Linked DNA regions of Homo sapiens: regions 1 and 3 are each linked to region 2. Evidence: promoter capture Hi-C in 16 types of primary human blood cells and fetal thymus (Javierre and others, 2016). All regions are on one chromosome and are shown on one strand. The core of a region is centred on a gene start or on the middle of the fragment in contact, and the rest is flanking DNA. Distances in the headings are between cores, read along the strand shown.

Region 1 (2,700 bases), core at 8-2,507, 1.4 Mb after region 2:
CACATCTTCTTCCCCAGGCAAACACATCTTCAGCCAAATGATAGAAGGAAATGGAAAAAAAAGACCCACAATTTATAGGCATTCATTTTACAGGCATCACTTCAGGGATACAGCTGGTCCCAAAGCAGCATTTCTCAAAGGGTGGTCCAGGAACCACCTGCATCAGAATCACCTGGGATCTAGTAAAAAATGCTAATTTCCATGTCCCAAGGAACACTTACCAAATCAGAATCTCTGGGGATGGACCTGGGAGATGTATATTTTTTAACAAGTCCCCTAGAGGTTCTTACGTGTACAGCCAGGCACACAAGAGGCCACCATACCAGGAAATCCAGGTAGCCTGCAGGTGATCATGCCCTGATTCTGCTCCCCGTACATCAGGCTGTGAGATCTCAGGTCTGAGATGCCTTGCCAAGGGCTGTGTCACCTCCTGCTCTCTCAGAATAAGATTCCTGGCAACACCCAGCCAGAGTGTCATGAAGATCCCCTAAATCCCCGGTGGATCTGTCAGCCCTGGTTTAACAGTATGCAGAGGCGGCTGGGTCTCGCAAGCAGTGGGCAGGTTCTTGGCTATGGCATCTGCCAGGAGAAGCTGGTAATAGGCCTGATTTATGACACTCAGCATGGGACCTGGCTGCTGAGCTCAATCACTGTGGCTCCCCACGGTGGGGTTCATGCGCTGTAACGGGCCTGGAAATTGGAGAGGAATTTACCTCCTGCTGCCGAACATTACATAACAATCAAGGGAAACAAGCAGAGGCAGGAGGGGGCCTCCTCAGCTGGCACTGGCAGCCTGGCACAGCAAAGGAGGTAGGACTGGGAGTTGTCTGCTTGGGTTCTCACGCCCTCGACAGCCTGTGCAAGCAGGTTCCAGGGTGGCCCCGTCAGAGCTGGCATCAGAGCCAGCCAAGATACAAGCATCAGCCCAGCAACTTTTAGAAGGGATGGCTGGGGAGACAGGCTCAGAGGAGGAAAAGGGCTGCCCTCTAAACTCCTGTCAGCCAGCCCAGTAGCTCTAATTCTAACAGCACTTACAGAACATGCACCAATTAATACCTTCCTGATTTGCAACTGGGAATAATTCAAATAGGACCTGAGATTGACATCTGCAACATGAGAGGCCATGGAACAAAATGAAGATGGGCAGGGAGAAGAGACCGAGATCAGCACAGGCCCATAGGTCATGGTGGGGAGCTTGGATATTCTTCCAAGTGCCCTGGACAGTTGCTGAAGGACCTTCTTTCATCTAGATCAGCCACCTCCCTAGAATTGCCCATAGGGTTAAGGAACATGTGACAGATGATTATGATAACTGAGTTCTGATGGACTCGCAAGGAACACAAGTTCTTATCTATTTATCAAAGCAGACCCAGGTAGGTGCATATTTTGGCAACTTTGAGATGAACTGACGCACTGTCTAACACTCATCAGCGGGTGATGAAACTTCCATTCTGACAAGGTGGCTGGGCCTCACAGACACTCTCCCACCCTAAATGAACCACAAAGACAAGATTCCAAGTACCACTCTTAGCTGCTGACTTCATGACCCACAAAATGTGCTGGCCTAGAAACCTACTAATTATTTTTCAGTAAAAGAACTTTATCTTCTGATTAAATATTACATAGAGGTCCAATGTATGAAATGCATTTATCACCATTGAAATTAATGATTCCTCTGTTGTCTGTCATCCTGACTAGACGCATACTCCTGTCCGCCTCCTTCACTAGCGTATTTCCAGTACTCAAAGAGTATCTGGCATGCAGTGGACACAGTAGCATTTGTGCAATCTGGAAAAGAATGGGATTAAATCAGATACACTTCTATTAAGGTATTAATATTAAGTGACACCAATTGTGTGCAAGCCAGGCCTTGCAATGAGTGCCCGGAGTATAATAGTAAACAAACTCATCACAGGCTTTCCTCTATTTTGCTCCTAGTGTAAGAGGAAATTAATATTAATAGATGCAAATTTGCAACTGAGGCGTGTGCTAGCAAATAGAGGTAACAGGACTATGAATATACAGAAGGGAAAACTGACCTGGTCAAAAGAAGGTCAGGGAAGGCTTCCTGAAGAAAGTGTTATTTAAGCTAGGACCTAAAGCACAAGTAATACTTAGCCGGATAATTGGGACAGGGAGGATGGAATTGCATTTCTGTCCAAGAGAACGGCATCTGCAAAGCCCTCAGTAGAAGGAATATGACCTCCTGATCCTGTGTTTCAATCATGGCATCTCTACCTCAGTCTGTTTTTACATATTGGACTTTCAGGGTCACATTCCTTTAGAAAAGAAGTGCTTGACAACTAAAATACAAATACTGGAAGTTGAGCTGACCAAATGACCTCAGAGGGCCCTATGAGCTCTTAAAATCTCTCTACATACAGACTCAAGAGAGCTTGGCAATGGCCTGTATGCCTAGGTCAAGGCAAGAGGTCAGGGGTCAAAGGTGACTGACCAGACCCACAAGACTGAATGGCGAGCTGTAGCTAATGAAAGAACAGTGTTAATTTGTTTCTTGTTTGCTTTTTTTCCTTACATTCTAGATGCACAGTAACTATTCTGGTTCTTTCTAAATGAGTTCGACGTCTTAAAGTGAATTCCTTTTGCCTTTACAACTTACAAAATGCAATCTGTTAAGCTCATTTCATACATTCATTCATCAAATAGTCACTGAAAATATATTTTAAGACATGTCCTCAG
Region 2 (2,700 bases), core at 189-2,688:
GAACCCGTTAATTCTAGCCATCCTGGATCTGGGTAGGGAGGGTGCGCGGCTCCCAAGCCCAGTCTGGATGCCTAGTGCGGTGTGCTTCGGTCTCCCCGTCTGCCCTCCGGGGAGGTTTCTCACCCGGTGGCCCTGGGCCGCTTCACTGTGGCGCTTCCACTTTTGGCTACCGGCCTTCCTCCGCCCAGGACCTTCCGGCCCAGGGAGCAGCCGACGGGCACCCCCGAACGCTGGGGCACGGAATTTCAACGGGGCGACCAGAGCGGAGCTCGCGGCTCGAGGCTCGCGGCTGAGTACGAAGACGGGACCCGAGGACCTGTACATCGCTCGAGGGGAACCTGTCCTGGGCTCTGGTGCACACATAGTATGCGTTCTGGGCTGGCTTGGGTTGGGCCAGGTAGGGGAGACCTGGCTGGGTACGAGGCGCCGTCCAAGCCTTCCGGCCGTGGGCCGGGCGGTCGCGGCGCCTTTGCGCACAGTGGCCACTTGGGGTCGCACTTTATGCCTGTTTGAGCCTCTCCGCGGCGGGCTGACGCCGGGATCTGCTTAATCGTTACAAAACGTTCAAACAAAAACAGGGCCGGCTCCCCAGCAGTGGAGAGCTACTCGGAGCACCGTCCCGGGCCGGCCTCGGCCCCGAGGCTCCGGGGGCTCAGGATTCCGTGCGTGTGGCGGGGAAGAGGAATTCAGAGCCTTTGGGCTGCTGCTTTTCCCGTCGCCTTCACTGTGAACATTGTGCGGTGGGGTGAACGCGGGGAGCGGCGGGGCCAGTGGAGTCGAACCTCAGGGCTCTGCGACTGCACCCGCCAGGAGGGGCCCTCGCTTGGCCTGAGAAAGGTCCCCTGAGGTTAAGAGTTGGGTCTGAACACAACTCTCGGAGCCTCGAGCCCGCCCTCCCCAACATACAAATACGCGCAGATCTCCAGAAACAGGAACGCACGACACACACGGCCAGAAGCCGCGAGGACACACAGAGCGTCGCCCACTGGGCGGGGGCCGCTTGGGAACAAAGGGCCCAGGAGGCGTTGTCCCGGCGCTCATTCTGAGCCTCCTTGGGGGTGACACGGGATGGGGGTGGGGTGCAAAGGGAACTGAGGGAGGAGAGTGCGCGAGGAGGGGAAAGCGGTGATTTGGCCTAGAGGTGGGGCGCGCACTCCAGGCGAGCGTGCGTGGGCCGGGACCTGCAGGGTACGGGGGTGGGCCCAGGCTGGCCGTCCCACTCCGCTCCAGCGCTCCGCCAGGCCTCCGCCGCTCCGGGGCCGCTCGGGCCGCCAGTCAGCTGACGCGGGGGGCGGGGGAGCTGTCAGGCGCGCCCCGCCCTGCGCCGCTGGGCCGCGGAGGCCGTGCAGCTATTGGCCCGCGCACCGGGCCGCCCGGGCCCCCGCACCCCAGTGACATCAGGAGGCGATAAAAGGCTGCGGCGCCGCCGGATCCAGCACAGCTGCACCGCCGAGCTGCGAGCGGCTGCGAGCGAGAGAGCGTAAGAGCAAGAGAGCTAGAGAGCGAGCAACGGGCACTCGCCCCACGCCTCCCCTCAGCCCCACCGCGCGCTCCGCTTGCCTCTCCACCCCGCCCGACTCTACCCGGCCCGGTCCCTGCGCGGGCACAGCCCAGAGCTCTGGGGCGGTGCAGGCAGCCTCGGGACTCTCCGGCGCGCCGCCGCGTCCCCAGACAAAGGCTTGGCCGGCGGCCCCGGCCCGCTGCGCCCTCGCTCCCCGCCTCCCCAGCTCTTCTCCGCTCTTCCCCCCCGCGCTTGGCTCGGCGCGCTCCGGCCGGCCGCAAAGTTTCCCGGGCGGCAGCGGCGGCTGCGCCTCGCTTCAGCGATGGCCGCGGAGCTGAGCATGGGGCCAGAGCTGCCCACCAGCCCGCTGGCCATGGAGTATGTCAACGACTTCGACCTGCTCAAGTTCGACGTGAAGAAGGAGCCACTGGGGCGCGCGGAGCGTCCGGGCAGGCCCTGCACACGCCTGCAGCCAGCCGGCTCGGTGTCCTCCACACCGCTCAGCACTCCGTGTAGCTCCGTGCCCTCGTCGCCCAGCTTCAGCCCGACCGAACAGAAGACACACCTCGAGGATCTGTACTGGATGGCGAGCAACTACCAGCAGATGAACCCCGAGGCGCTCAACCTGACGCCCGAGGACGCGGTGGAAGCGCTCATCGGCTCGCACCCAGTGCCACAGCCGCTGCAAAGCTTCGACAGCTTTCGCGGCGCTCACCACCACCACCATCACCACCACCCTCACCCGCACCACGCGTACCCGGGCGCCGGCGTGGCCCACGACGAGCTGGGCCCGCACGCTCACCCGCACCATCACCATCATCACCAAGCGTCGCCGCCGCCGTCCAGCGCCGCTAGCCCGGCGCAACAGCTGCCCACTAGCCACCCCGGGCCCGGGCCGCACGCGACGGCCTCGGCGACGGCGGCGGGCGGCAACGGCAGCGTGGAGGACCGCTTCTCCGACGACCAGCTCGTGTCCATGTCCGTGCGCGAGCTGAACCGCCACCTGCGGGGCTTCACCAAGGACGAGGTGATCCGCCTGAAGCAGAAGCGGCGGACCCTGAAGAACCGGGGCTACGCCCAGTCTTGCAGGTATAAACGCGTCCAGCAGAAGCACCACCTGGAGAATGAGAAGACGCAGCTCATTCAGCAGGTGGAGCAGCTTAAGCAGGAGGTGTCCCGGCTGGCCCGCGAGAGAGACG
Region 3 (2,700 bases), core at 131-2,630, 1.6 Mb after region 2:
TTGAGATGAGATCACCACAGACTACTTGAATAAGCTCTAAATCCAGAGACAAATGTCCTTATATAAGTCAGAAGAGGACATACACAAAGGAGAAGGCAGTGTGAAAAGGGAGACTGAAATTGAAGTGATGTGGCCACAAGCCAAGGAAGCCAAGGAATGTTGGCAGCCACCAGAAGCTGAAGAGGCAAGGAAGCATTCTTCCCTACAGCCTCCAGAGGGAGTGCAGCCCAGAGTTGATTTCAGACTTCTGGTCTCCAGAACTATAAGAGAATAAATTGCTGTTGTCTTACATCACCTAGTTTGTGGTAATTTGTTGCAGCGGCTTCAGGAATATAATACATGGGGTTAAGTCTTAAATAAGATAATCCATGGAGTACAGTACCTATTACCCAGTAGGAGCTCAACAAAGGTCAGACATCATCACCATCACCATTGCCATCATCAGCATTGCCACTGTCATCTCCAGCACCATCATTAACACCATCACCATCTCCATGATCATCACCATCAGCACCATCACCATCGCCATCTCCAGCACCATCATCACCACAGCCACCAACATCTTCATCGCCATAATTACCACCACCATTTCCATCTTCATCACCATCATCATCACCATGTCCACCTTCATCATCACCACCCCATCTTCATCATCATCGTCCTTACCATCATCACCTCCATCATCCTCATCCTCATCATCATCATCATCGTTTCTGCACACACTGAAAATTTCTTCCTCCAATCTATACATTTTATTTAGGGGCATTTGATATTTCTCTGTTGAATACTTTAGCAATTTCTCTTTTGCTCTAACATCTTCTCCACAATATAGATGATATTCACATTTGTGCACCATTGCTCCCTCTCCTTTCTTGGGAGAAGCTTAATTCTGAGACCATATCTTTCTCCCAGTTTTTACTATTAAACTATTCTTTCTTTTGTGAAATAGTAATAATAAAAGAAGACAGCTGTTTTATACATCATTACTTAGAAAAGATATGGCCTGCTCTTTACATAAGGGTATCTCCTCTGGGTATTTCATTTGTTTTATTTTACTTGCCTATGGAATGTAGAAAACTGGAAATCAAAGTTCTAGTGTCTTTTGATGCCCCCCATCCCACCCCGCCATTTCAGAGTATGGTACTTGAGTGTCACCAAGATATGGAGGGAACTTGGGAGCTTCAGGTGCAGGGCTAATATCTGCTTGGGATGCTCAGGGAAAGGAAACAACATATTTGAATGTAGACTTCAAGCCAGACAAGAAGTGAGTCAGTGGTGGAAGAAGTCCAGACCTGAGGTCTCCGTGCCTCAAACTGTTAATGAAGGGCCCAAGCTCCCAGGGAACCCCAGGCCAGCTCACCCAGCAGGTGACCCCCCATCCCTCCTCCTCAGGGCCTTGCTGCCTCCTGACATCACCCTCCTCTTCCTTCCCACAGGCAAGGGCTCAGCACTTCTTCCCTGCCTCCATCCCGCATACCCACCCTGGAGATCAGGGCTGGGATAAGTACACCGAAAAGCCCCATGCCGTGATAGGTATGTAATTATGTACTGAGCAACTTAGCAGGCAGGATCAGTTCACCTTCCCTTGGTGAGGGGTGCATCAAGTCTCAGTAGGGGAGGAAGAGACGGAGGGTACAGGATGCTGTGTGTCTCCTGCTAAAAACTCTGGCAAGAAGCCAGAGGGTCAACTGATCAGTCCCAGCCCATCCCAGGCCTGAAGGCAACAAGCAAATAACCACAGCACAGCACAATCCAGGAGTGACAAGGAGAGGTTTGGGCAACTGTCATCTGCTTCAGGATGCTCAGGGAAAAGAGGTGACATTTGAATCCAGGCCTCAAGGGATCTGGAGAAGCTGTCAGGGTGAGAAGGAAGCTTCAGGAAGGGGACAACCTGACCGATGGCCTGGAGGCACAAAAAGGCATGTGAAGCTGGAGTCTGGCTGTTGAGCAGGCTGGAGGGATGGCTGCCAGGGAAGGAGTCACCCTTTTCCTGATTTGAGGGCTAGGTGCCTCTGGTCCCCACCCGAATGATGCATGGAGAAACGGGAGACTATGAAATGGGCAGTGACACAAAAAGGAGTTAAATGACTTATCCAATACTATAATCAAAACCAGAATTTGAACCCAGAGACTGGGATTCCACTCTTAACCCCTAAACCTCATACTAGTTAGAGACAGAGGTGATTCTAGACCACGAGCCACAGTGCTACAGTGGGCTCAGCCCAGGGAGTCATGAAGGTACGGAGAAGTCCCTGTGCTCCTCAGATTTCTGTTTCATAATGCTGCATAACAAACAGCCCCAAGTGGCTCAACGGTATACAATACTCGTGGGTCTGCAGTCAGCAGGACTGGCTTTGCTCCTGACTGCAGGTCACTTTCAGGTATGTTCCATGGGGCTCACACTCTGGGACCAGTGACTAATTGGAGGATCTTCTTTTCATGGTGAATGGGAAAAGCCCAGGAGAGTTGAGCTGAATAAAACAATTTCCACAATCCACCCCAACCCCACCCCTAGTGCCCAAGCCCCCTTTTCCTACTCCTGGGTGGTCTGCTCAGATCCTTTCTCTTGGCCACCCAAATTCCTCCTAAATATGCTCAGGAAAGATGCCCTATGCCCTCTGTCCAGATCATTCCTGACATCCCTCCCAGGGACCCCTGCTCTTCTTACTGAACCAAAGTCCTGCCCCGAAGGCAACCTCA

The links. Contacts are between HindIII fragments. The CHiCAGO score rates a contact against its expected background, and 5 or more counts as called.
Region 1: a fragment that was not itself captured here is called in contact with the fragment with the promoter of MAFB in region 2 in 1 of 17 cell types (endothelial precursors); the score reaches 6.4 in endothelial precursors.
Region 3: a fragment that was not itself captured here is called in contact with the fragment with the promoter of MAFB in region 2 in 1 of 17 cell types (endothelial precursors); the score reaches 7.4 in endothelial precursors.

What each region holds. Positions count from the first base shown.
Region 1 is chr20:39,280,814-39,283,513 of GRCh38, reverse strand. No RefSeq gene overlaps it. Among named protein-coding and RNA genes, the nearest start is that of LINC01734, 57 kb to the right of the region's middle. RefSeq lists enhancers at 1-648, 649-1,327. The HindIII fragment of the contact is 6,741 bases long and covers 1-2,700 here.
Region 2 is chr20:40,687,974-40,690,673 of GRCh38, reverse strand. MAFB (MAF bZIP transcription factor B) reads left to right here and starts at 1,438. Exons shown (of 1, transcript NM_005461.5): 1 at 1,438-2,700. The coding sequence starts at 1,824. RefSeq lists enhancers at 1-247, 248-1,225 and silencers at 1,176-1,485, 1,506-1,575. The HindIII fragment of the contact is 7,144 bases long and covers 1-2,193 here.
Region 3 is chr20:39,101,388-39,104,087 of GRCh38, reverse strand. No RefSeq gene overlaps it. Among named protein-coding and RNA genes, the nearest start is that of LINC01734, 120 kb to the left of the region's middle. The HindIII fragment of the contact is 991 bases long and covers 885-1,875 here.